Linked DNA regions of Homo sapiens: regions 2 and 3 are each linked to region 1. The links are contacts of gene promoters, found by promoter capture Hi-C in blood cells and fetal thymus (Javierre and others, 2016). All regions are on one chromosome and are shown on one strand. Each heading gives the region's core, a stretch centred on a gene start or on the middle of the fragment in contact. The rest is flanking DNA. Distances are from core to core; before and after follow the strand shown.

Region 1 (3,895 bases), core at 389-2,888:
CTCTCTGGCTTCCACGGGCCAGGCTTCCCTGGCCTACCAGCCTGAAGAGGAAGGCCTCCCTTCTCTGCTGCTGCTGCGTGGCCGGGTCTGGGTGGAGATTGGGCAGTAGGGAGCATGAGTGGGTCGATGGGGGTCACATGGATACTCGGACCTCCAGGGGGAGCAGCCGTTGAGGGGAGGGCCTTAGCTGGAGCATGGTTGGTGGGTGGGGGGGTGTCACCCATTCATGCAGTTAACATCTATGAAACACCTAGCCAGGGAGCCCCTGGAAAGAGGATTCCCCTGCCAGACCTTGGCCCATTTCCTACATCCACATAGCAGCTCATCACAGAACACATGGCCAGTCTTTTGTCTCAGAAAGCCCTTCAACCATGCCCTATACCCCCTATAGCTTCCCTAACCTCTGACTCTATTCTGTTATTTTTTTCCTTCTGCTGTTCAGTCTTGACACCTGACATACACACACACACACACACACACACACACACACACACACACAGTGCCCTTCTGCCCGGGAGATGCTCCCCACTGGCAGGCCGTGGTCACTAGGCTGTGTGGAGGCGAGTGGCCTGATGGCCTGGGCTCTGCTGGGGTGAGGGAGGAGAAAAGACTGCCCCGAGGTGGCAAGGCCCCACCCAGCCCCGCCCACCTCCCCTTGCTCCTGCCTGGCCCCACCCAGCTTCCTCCCTGACGTGGCACCGGCTCCTGGCCTCTAGCCTTGCACCTCAGAGCAGTCCTGTGGTGGGGGTGCTCCCCTTGCTCACCCAGGCAGCCAGTTCTTCCTCCACCAGGTGGCCCTGGAGCTTGGTGGCTCTGGCCCTCAAACTTTCCTCCTCCATGCTCACAGCTGACCAAGCCTGTGGCCCTGCGATCCTGCTCTGAGGGGGTTCCTGACTTGGACCATGGGTGGGGCCAAGGACGGCCTGACATTCTGTCCTTCCCTGCTGATGGCCCAGTGCCCCACATTCTCTGCAGAGATGAAATCCCACATCCCTGGGTGAGTGGCGAGGAAAGGACCAGGCTACGTGGTCATGGGCAGCTGACAGGGTGTGGTTCCCCCTGCCACACTCCCCAAGTCTGTCACTCCTTAAAGGACAGGTTTCTCCACTGGTGAATGAACAGAAGGTGGAGCAGCCAGCCTCCCGGCCACTGCTGTCTGGGGTCCTGGCCAGATCAAGGAAGCAGTGTCCCTGTGCCTCCTGGGGGGTAAGCCCACACCTGGGAGGGCCTGTCCACATTCTGACCCCTCGCTGGGTCTAGATCTGGCTCCCCTGACTTGGCTCTTCCCTCCCCATCTACCCTCCAACCTGTTTCTTCCTTCTCCCGCTTCTCCCTTTCTTTCCTGTTTCTCTCCTTTTGCGATTTCTTCTCCTCTGTCATCTCCCCAGCCCCTCCTCCTGTTTCTCCTCCAGTTTCACTCCCTGCCAACCCAGGGCTTTCTCCTCTGCACTCTTGTCCCTCCCTCCCCTCCTCACTTCTTGCCCAGTCTCTTGCCATTTCTGCCCTCCTCTGAACCTCCAGCAGTCTCTTCCACCTGCAGGCAGGGCCATGGGCCTCTTACCCCGTGAGGCTCGGTGCTGTCTCTGTGGGGCCCTGTCCATGGGGCAGCTCCCTTGGTGCCGTCCTGGCTGCCCTGGCTGCCCAGGAGGGCAGGGAGCAGGGCCCAGGGGAGGGAGGAGGGCGGAGGGTGGAAGGCGGGAGCACCTGGCCCTCCAGCAGGCAGGGAAAAGGAGTGGCTGGCAGAGTGTCCTGGCACCAGGAGGGGACATGAGGAGAGACCAGTGGACCAGTGCATGGAGCCTTGAGGAGAAACAGGACAGGAGAAAGGAAGGGAACTAGCATTTATTAATCACTTACTGTGTGCTGGGCCCTTTGCAGGACACTTTATGTAAATCCATGCTTTTACTTTGTGTAAATATTCACAGCACCCACCACAGGGAAACATTATTATTCCAGATTGATCAGTGAGTGGAGGGATTCTCAGAGATATTAATGATTTTGCCCAAGGACTCACACAAGAACAATAAATGGGTGAGCTATGATTTGGACCCAAGTCTTTGTGACTTTAGAATCCTGTGATTTCTACCTAAGACAGGTGACAGGCATAGGGGAGATGGAGAGGGCAGGTTTGGGGGACTGTGTCTCTTCTCTAGGATGCAGTCAGACTCCTCCCAGTGACTGTTCAGTTCCCTGAGGCCTCTGCCTGCTCGGCCCCTGCCCCTAACCCTTGCTGCTCTTGCCAGGACTCCCTGACCCCCTGATGCTTCTACGTGCTCCTCATCTGTTGGGGCAAGGGGCAGGCCTGGAGGAGTGCCTGGAGGCAGAGAAGCCATGGTGGGGAAGAGGAGAGGAGAGATGCTGCACTGGACTCATTGGGAGAAGGAGAGGCTCCCAGACCTAGTGGCCCACACTGAGGCCTGCAGTGAAGGCTCTGAAGGGGGCCAAGAGGACGAGGCTTCTGGGGATCCTGGTGCTGCTTTTCTCCTGCATGGCCTGGGCCCAGAGTTTGATTAGCTGGGCCTGACTCTCCTGGTTACCCAACAAGCAACTGGCCAGGGGCCAGGCTGCAGCAAGAGGCTCCCTGGCACCTCCTCCTGCTCTCGTTCCCAGCTGGTAAACAGCAGAGCAGGAGTCAGCCATGCCACAGCCTCGTGACTCGCCCACTCCCCCCCACCTGGTGCACGTGGCACCTGGCATGGAGAGGGCAAGCAGCTGTCCCTTCCCTCTTCTGCCGTCTCGTCTCGCCATCCTCCACTCCTGCCCAACCCTGGAGCTTCACACTCTGCTACCATCAGCACCTCTGTTCTTAGGTAGCTCCCAGAGTCTCCCCATGGCTGCAGATTGAGAGATAAAGGTAGAAGTGGAGAAGGACTTTTCAACTCCTAGGGTCATTGACAGTGGATGAGTAGTGAGAAAGAGGAGGGGAAGTTTTGGGGACCTTCTGCACTGAGTCTAAGGGTATGTGCCTATGCCTCTGAGGCTCTGATTATCCCCCGTGTTCTTTTGGTAAATGTGGGCCCACGCATCCATGTATGCATCTCTGCACAGAACAGGATGTTGGTCTGTTTGGGGGCTCTGCACCTTGGGCAGGTTTGGAGTGAGAGGTAAAGTGCTTTGCAGCTCCCTTCCCCCCCGCCCCCCCAGCACCCTCCAGCTGACAGGAGGAGCCAGCAACATGCCGGGCGTGGGAGTGCAGGGGAGATGCCGTTCTGCTCCCCTCCTCCCCAGAACTCCTCAGTTATCCCCCATCTCTCTGTCTCTCTTTGCTGGCTCCTGCCTGTCTGTGGCTCTTCTCCAGCTGTCCCCTCTCTATCTTTTCTCCTTTTTAGGCCTCTCTTCCTCTTGACTCTGGGTCTCCCAGGGGCCCTTCGTGACTACCTCTTCTACAACCCACCAATTGCAGGCACAGAGTGGAGGTCACGTAGAATGCTTGCGGATGGACACAGAGCATCCCCAGACACTGCAGGCACAGCTGACTCCCCAGTTGTGCCACTTTGTGCTACTATGTAGGGTGGGGAGGAAGTGACTGGAGATTTAGAAGACAGTATCCTGACCTCTAGGCCTAGGAGTGTCACATGCTTCCTAGGCATTCTCTACCTCTCCCCTGCCCTAAGCATGGATAGTTTGAGTTTTTTTTCTCCCCAGGGCAAGAAGATCCCTTGGTTATCCTTATGGGAAGTTCCCCCTCTTGTCTAAACTTTCTCCCTCTTGCTGCAATCACAGCCCCTTATCTGGAAGAATCGTCCTTTCAAAGCAGGGCGGTGGTTATTTCCTCTTCAAATACAATCTTATATAAGGAAGGGGCTGATAGGGATCAGAGAATCATTTCATCCCCACGTGCCCAGTCCCCTTATTGGGGAAATCTCCATGCTGGGGGCAAACACTCTGGAAGGGA
Region 2 (3,895 bases), core at 731-3,230, 330 kb before region 1:
GGCTAGTACTCTTTTATCCAGCTCTTATAAGCTCCCACTCCAATAGGGGAGTGAAGATGACACTTTGGGACTATGTTTCAATGTCAGTTCAGATCCTGTGCCCAACAGTCATCTGTGCACAGTCACCTGAATAAATACTTACAAGTCCCCTTTTGGAAGGACTGGGGAATCATTATAGTATATAATTACCATGGTGTTGCCAGTCTTTGGGGACCAGTGTACCTCTATAGTCAATGAGTTTTGGGTCTGAAAACTGACTTAGGTTCTGGAACCAGACAAAGGAGCATGCTTTTTAACTGAGAGCTCCATCCTCAGGTTCCTGCTCATCCATTCTTGCTCTCTGTTAATTACACATCTTCAGCAATATCCTTGTTTTGACTGCACATCCATTTTGCCCCCTAAGGATAGCATGTTTTATTAACCATCGATACAACTCTTCATGTCAAGCCCCTTGCCAGTCTCTCTGATACTTGTAACCCCCATCCCACGGCTTCTGGCAATTAAGTGCTGCCACCAGCCTCTACTACCTCAGTACACCCATCATCCTTGTCACTATAACAGAGCCAAGCTTGTGACAGTGTCTCCTCCTGTTAGCACTGGCTTGTAGAAGAAAGCCACAACTAAGCTTCTGTGTGATGCTGGCACTTTCACCAGCACATTTTTGATGGCCTTGGTAAATGGGATTCCTGGCTGGTGCAGTGGCTCACACCTGTAATCCCAGCACTTTGAAGGCCAAGGCAGGCAGATCACCTGAGGTCAGGAGTTTGAGTCCAGCCTGGCAAACATGGTGAAACCCTGTCTCTACTAAAAATACAAAATTAGGCCGGGCGCGGTGGCTCATGCCTGTAATCCCAGCACTTTGGGAGGCTGAGACAGGTGGATCATGAGGTCAGGAGATCGAGACCATCCTGGCTAACACAGTGAAACCCTGTCTCTACTAAAAATACAAAAAAAAAAAAATTAGCCGGGCGTGGTGGCATGCGCCTGTAGTCCTAGCTACTCGGGAGGCTGAGACAGGAGAATTGCTTGAACCTGGGAGGCGGAGGTTGCAGTGAGCCAAGATGGCGCCACTACACTCCAGCCTGGGTGACAGAGCGAGACTCCATCTCAAAAATAATAATAATAATAATACAAAAATTAGCCGGGCGTGGTGGCGTATGTAATCCCAGCTACTGGGGAGGGTGAAGCAGGAGAATCACTTGAACGCGGGAGGCAGAGGTTACAGTGAGCTGAGATTGCACCACTGCACTCCAACCTGGGTGACAGAGCGAGACTCCATCTCAAAAAAAAAGGGATTCCTCCGGGCCTTCTATGGAGCATTCTTAGAATTCACTCTATCATGCCCGTTTTGCTGAGCCATTTAATCTTTTCTTCCCCCAGTTGCTCTGGCAATACAGACATTTGACCTTCACTCAGCAACCATTATCATTTCCTCCATGCTCCTAGGAGCCACTAGGGGCAGGTCCTTACCAGGAAGTTAAATTCCTTTTTATTTTTATTTTTTTTGAGACGGAGTTTCATTCTCGTTGCTCAGGTTGGACTGCAATGGCACGATCTTGGCTCACCGCAACCTCCGCCTCCCGGGTTCAAGCAATTCTCCTGCCTCAGCCTCCTGAGTAGCTGGGATTACAGGCATGCGCCACCACACCTGGCTAATTTTGTACTTTTAGTAGAGACGGGGTTTCTCCATGTGAGTCAGGCTGGTCTCGAACTCCCGACCTCAGGTGGTCCGCCCACCTCGGCCTCCCAAAGTGCTAGGATTACAGGTGTGAGCCACGGTGCCCGGCCAGGAAGTTATATTCTATCCCAAGAAAGTGGTCCCCAAGTTAAAAAACTTGCCCTTAATCCACTTTTATATTTCATCCCCTTGATTAAGCACTGTCAAAATCCAATCCCATGGGTACTTCCCTACTCTTACCACTAAACGTTGGCCAGTTCTTGCAGGATACTTTGGGTTATAGTCCCTTTCTTTCCTTATTAGGCCTAGTATGTCCTTAGCTACCAGACTATGCTGTAATTTAACCCATGAGAGTTTAAGATTAAGATCTTCACAGTCAGGAGATCATGGGAGGGGAGAGGCCTCTGCAGTGTCTTAAGGCTCTGAGGGTTCAGAGGAGTGCAGAAAGCCAGAATCTTTGGGGGGACCTGCCCAGATATTTCTATTCCACGTATTAGGGTCCCAGGTTTTCCCAAGCAGAGTCCTGACCTTGATTGCAGATCTGCCTCTGGGAGCTCTATTGAAGTCCTCGAGTTTGGTCTTCAGATTTTTTTGCTCTCTCACTGCTATAGATAAGGGCCTCTTTGTAAGCCATCAGAAAGGCCCTCTGACCTTCACAGTTAATTTCCAACGTTTGTTAACTACTCTCAGCTTTTCATTTTCTCCTGGCAGGGCCCAGTGCAACTTAATAACAGCCAGCCAATTCCATTGTCCCTATACTCACTGCTGTCCCTCCGCCTACCCCCTATGCCTGAACTGTTCCACCACAGGAGCATTCTCTCATTTCACATCAGTGAAAATTTAGCAACTTGGCTACCATCTTGTTCCAGAGACTACCTGTACCCCACAACATCCAGGAGGGGTTCTTGTTGCCAGCCAGGCAGTGAGTACTGCAGTTCCCTAAACCTATCTTACTGCTCGCTTTTTCAGACCACTTCTGGAGTGGTCACCTGAGTCAGTTCAGGTGGTCTGGGGAGCAGATACTGAGACAAAGTTAGGAGTGCAAGAGGCTTACTGGCTGGCAACACCTGTGAAAGATAAAGAAGGAGGCAGGAATGGGCAGAGAAAGACTTTGGATAGGCTTCCCTATCCTGATAAAGTAAAGGAAGGCAGAAGCAAAATCGGGCAAGAAAAACCTCAAGCTGTGGTGCAGATCCTTCCAAGTGGCAGTCTACCCAGTGGAAAGCACCAGGGCAAAGGTTATCACATAGAGAAATCAACAGTGGGCAGAAACGGCCAGGTCCCAGTAACCACACTGTCAGTCATTGGCTTGGGGCTGTTCAGGAAGAGTGTGGCCTTAGCTCTGACATGGTAGTGGATCCCAAAGGTGATGCAGCTGTGGGCTGACAGTGAATTGCTTTCTGGCAGTTGAATGGCAGATTCTTTCTAAGGGATGTCATGGCTGCCACATCAGGTATTTTTGTCTTGGAGTTCAGTGCTATTTCCATATGTCATTTTGCCTCTGTATTATGAGACTTATACTTTGAAAAAGATTCAGATAAAAAACCTGAGCAAATCAGCAATTAATGGGATTCTGCTAAAACTCTTTGCCACAGTGGACTGTGAGAGAACTGGAGGAGTCTCAGGGCTTGCGGGATGTGTGTATAGGTTTGAGCTGCCAAGCTTCTGTCCCCTTCATTGATGAGAGGAGGAAAGCGAGATGGGAAGTAGAATCAGCTGTTGTTTGGGTGTGTGGAGGAAAACTGGCTCTCTCCTCAGAATGGCGTTTTAACAACCCAGAAAAAGAATTACACGAAGGAATCTGTTCCTTTTAATTTCTTTTTTTGTTGTTGTTTTTTGAGATGGTGTCTTGCTCTGTTGACCAGGCTGGAGTGCAGTGGTGCGATCTCGGCTCACAGCAACCTCTGCCTCCCGGATTCAAGCGATTCTCGTGCCTCAGCCTCCCAAGTAGCTGGGATTACAGGCACATGCCACCATGCCCAGCTAATTTTTTTTCTTTATTTTTAGTAGAGACGAGATTTCACCATGTTGGCCAGGCTGGTCTCGAACTCCTGACTTCAGGTGATCCACCTGCCTCAGCCTCCCAAAGTGCTAGGATTACAGGCTTGAGCCACCATGCCTGGCCTGGGAATTGGAAATATATGGCCTGTCTTGCTCTTTTTTTTTTTTTCCTTTTAAATGATATTCTTATTTTGAATGTAGACTGAAGGCCAGGTG
Region 3 (3,895 bases), core at 748-3,247, 270 kb before region 1:
GAATTCAGGTACTTTCCTATAGTTTAGTTCAGGAAGAATATGCTAGTCTTGTAAAGTGCATCAATAACTTGCTGGCTGGTTGTCAGGAGCAGAAATTCTGGATTGAGGATGAGCAGTCCAGGAATGACCTCTCTACAACTAGAGAAAGAAGAATGCATGCAATGTGTTCCCTGTAGTCCAAGAACCAGGGTAGCCCTGCTGGAGCTCTACAGAGCCATGTGCCAGGTAATCTTTGTTGTGAAAGAAAAAACTGTTGGGTGGTCCCAGAGTCACCACCCCAAACACCTGATCTTGGGCAAGGTAATGCTGCCTCCCTGGACTTCAGTTTTCCTAGTCTGTGAAGTGGTGATGATAAGACCCGCTCCACAGAGCTGGCAGAAGCACCCCTGTACTGGTAGCAGTTTGTACCTGTAGACTGTAAAGTTGAGGGGTTATTGTTGCTGTCATTGTCATTATTAGGGCAGCGTGGACATTCTCAGGCTGACTCTCCAGGGTGAACTGACAGGAGATGAACTTGAACACATAGCCCAGAAGGTACTGCGGAATTCTGGTGGGCAAGGCCCCCTCCCCACACCAGTGCTTCCTTGCTGCTGGCCTCTTACCCAAGTACTGCCTGGAGCCGACTCTGGTGATGCGAGCGTGGGAGCCCCTCCTTTCAGCAACATCCAGCTTGCCTCAGCCTTCTGCACTGCTTTGGGGCAGGAGGAGTCCCCCACTAAAATTAAAACTAAACTGCTACTTCTGTCCATTCTCCCTGGCCGGTGTTCTTGCTGCTGTGTGGCTTCTGTTAGAAGTTCGGAAACGAATTTTTGGAGAGGAAAGTCAGACTAATCCTTCAAGTCTTTTGAGAAACAGGTCTTCTGCATTAGCTGAGGGGCAGGAGTTCTGGGCTTGCCATGTGGTGTCTGAGCCATCTCTCTCTCTCTCTCTCTCTCTCATCTCTCTTTGGCCAGGCGGGCAGGAAGACCTATGCCATGGTGTCCAGCCACTCAGCTGGTCATTCTCTGGCTTCAGAACTGGTGGAGTCCCATGATGGACATGAGGAGATCATTAAGGTAAGCTTAGTTCACCTCCAACTTTTCTCCCTGTCCTCTTCCTCCCTGCACGTATATGAGAAGGAGCAGTTGATGTTGTTGCCAAAGGGAGCTTGTGGTTTGATGGAAGGAACCAGACCTGAGCTGCTAGTTCCTGGCAATCTCCTAGAAATATCTTAATTAATACCAGGAGACTACAGTCTGCCTGTTAGCAACTTTGGTGCAGCCTGGCCCCAGGCAAGGGGATGGACTGGATGACCTTACTAGGGGCCTATCCACTGACCATGTTTTGCTGCTAGAGGTTGTGGAGACAGGTAGGAGGTGTGTTTATGGAACTTATGTTTTCCTATAATGGGTTCATCCTGATGGAACTTATTTATTTATTTATATATTTTTAGTTTTGTAGAGACAGTCTCGCCTTGTTCCCTGGGCTGGTCTCCAAATCCTGGGCTCGAGCAATCGTCCTGTCTCAGCCTCCCAAAATGCTGGTATTATAGGCGTGCACCAGCCCACCTGGCTGATGGAACTTATTTTTTAAAAAATAAAATGATTTTTGTTATTTCTCTCTCTCTTTTTTTTTATAAAACAGCTTTTTTAGATATAAATCCCATACCACATGATTGACTCAGTTACAGTTTTGGTCAGTGCATAACAAAACTGCATAACAACGTTTTGGTCAGTGATGGACTGCGTAGACAACAGTGGTCCCATAAGATTATTATACTCCATTTTTACTGTATTTTTTCTGGGTTTAGATACATTACCATTGTGTGACGATCACCTACAGTATTCAGTACAGTAACATGCTGTGCAGGTTTGTTTGTAGCCTAGGAGCAATAGGGTACACCATACAGCCTAGGGGTGTAGGAGGCCATGCCATCTAGGTTTGTGTGTGTACACTCTGTGATGTTTGTACAAGGATGAAATTGCCTAATGATGCATCCCTCAGAATGTATTCCTATGATTAAGTGATGCATGACTGTATATATGTGAGTGTTTATGCCAATACAGCTATATAGCATTGAGCTAAATTTATTGCATTAGGGTAAATTTCCAGAAGTAGAACTGATAGACCAAAAAGTAAATATATTTTTAGGTCTTCTGATCCGAATCACCAAATTCCACCCAGTAAATTGGTGGTAACAATTTACCCTCCCACCAGCACTATATGAAGCTGCCTATTTTTGTATAGTTAATTTAATTTGAGGTTTCTTAACTAAATGGTGTTCTTATTTCAGGTGTACTTGAAGGGGAGGTCTGGAGACAAGATGATTCACGAGAAGAATATTAACCAGCTGAAGAGTGAGGTCCAGTACATCCAGGAGGTGGGCACCCCTTACCTCTCACGCAGTGCCTAGGTCATTTCTCTAAATCTCACATTTTTTGTGACTGTCTTCTTTTGTGGATTCTGGTTTTTCCCCTTCTTTTTCCTTTATGTCTCTGAAATGCCACCATGCCCTCCCGTGTGTCAAATATATAACTTTTGACCATACCTGATCCATTAATCCACAAATACTTAAGTACTATGGGCCCAGCACTGTCCCAGCCACCTATCGAAAATTACCAGCCACTTTTCACAGCATTTCTTAACTCCCTTCCTGGCTCGTGTTTCTCGTTGGCACTTATGCCCATATAACATATTACACATTTTACTTATTTGTCTTTTGTGTCTTGTGTCTCCCCAACAAGAATGTCAGCTGTAGCTCCACTTGACCAAGGTCCCTCCCTCCATCCTGCAGCCAGTCGTTAGGACAGTGCCTGACTCGCAGTACAGGCCAGGGATGGGGCACAGAGTTGGGTGAGTTGGCATGCTCTCTTTCTCTACCCTAAAGCTCAAGTTTCTTCCCCTCCCCTCCCAGGCCAGGAACTGCCTACAGAAGCTCCGGGAGGATATAAGTAGCAAGCTTGACAGGAACCTAGGAGATTCTCTCCATCGACAGGAGATACAGGTAATAGGAAATGGTCCATGGTTGGGTCCCCACCGAGGAGGTGGGGTTGTGCCAGGCAGTCTCATTTACCAATTACCCAGTGTGTGCTAAATCTAGCATCCCTGCCAGGAATGGAGAAAATAGAGGTGATGCTGGCTTCTCTGGAGCACTCACAATCTGGTTAGGACTCTCCAGCCGATGAGCACTTACATTTACACATGTCAGCTTAAACATAAGTACACCTGCTCCTGAAACACTGTACAGAAATTGAACTTATATAAATTAAATATCATCAGTTGTTAGCAAACCTCTTATCTATAAGGATTCTGTGATCAAGCTTCTTATAATAATAGAATTTTGTAAAGCAGACAATCACCTGTAAATCCACACTTCTCATAAGCTGATCTTGCTTAGTTTGGGTGATACCTGTAGCGTAAATTGAAGTCCGTGCCCTAGCCTGTTATTAATCTTGTATATAGTTATGTCTAACCTGGGATGGGAAGTTCCTCAAGGTTAGGAGTTCACCCCACCCCACCCCACCTCGTGTCTGTATCCTCACCCTCCCATTCCCCCCAGGTCTGGGATGTAGAAGGCATCAGTAAATGTTTGTTAGACTGAACAGATTGGGTAAGTCTTTCCTGGGAGGGATAATCCTGGGATCCTGCTTTTCAGTTTTTCCAAAACTCGAGGACAGAAATGTCCTCAGGAGAGCAGAGCTGTCTCTTTGTGACTTCGCCCTCATCCTTTAGATTCTGAGTTGTATCCTTGATTTGCATTTTGGTTCAGGCAGAGTCTTGCTCCAGCAGCAGCCCCTGCCTTCATTCCCTTGAGGGGAACAGTGGCCCAGCAGCTGGTGCAAGGAAAGTTCTTTGTCTTGGGCATGCACTTGTGTGGTGGAAATTACCTAATTTTTGCTTTGGCTGAAGGTAGGTC

The links. The method cuts DNA at HindIII sites, captures the fragments that hold promoters and counts their contacts. A CHiCAGO score of 5 or more calls a contact.
Region 2: a fragment that was not itself captured here is called in contact with the fragment with the promoter of RORC in region 1 in 2 of 17 cell types (M0 macrophages and M1 macrophages); the score reaches 7.5 in M0 macrophages.
Region 3: a fragment that was not itself captured here is called in contact with the fragment with the promoter of RORC in region 1 in 8 of 17 cell types (M1 macrophages, M0 macrophages, endothelial precursors and 5 more); the score reaches 9.7 in M1 macrophages.

The regions. Positions count from the first base shown.
Region 1 is chr1:151,830,164-151,834,058 of GRCh38, forward strand. RORC (RAR related orphan receptor C) reads right to left here and starts at 1,639. Exons shown (of 11, transcript NM_005060.4): 1 at 1,562-1,639. The coding sequence starts at 1,601. RefSeq lists an enhancer at 260-947. The HindIII fragment of the contact is 14,534 bases long and covers 1-3,895 here.
Region 2 is chr1:151,500,224-151,504,118 of GRCh38, forward strand. No RefSeq gene overlaps it. Among named protein-coding and RNA genes, the nearest start is that of CGN, 9.2 kb to the right of the region's middle. RefSeq lists an enhancer at 3,668-3,895. The HindIII fragment of the contact is 2,715 bases long and covers 624-3,338 here.
Region 3 is chr1:151,561,632-151,565,526 of GRCh38, forward strand. TUFT1 (tuftelin 1) reads left to right here. Exons shown (of 13, transcript NM_020127.3): 2 at 460-534; 3 at 954-1,055; 4 at 2,273-2,359; 5 at 2,894-2,983. Among named protein-coding and RNA genes, the nearest start is that of MIR554, 18 kb to the left of the region's middle. The HindIII fragment of the contact is 1,878 bases long and covers 1,059-2,936 here.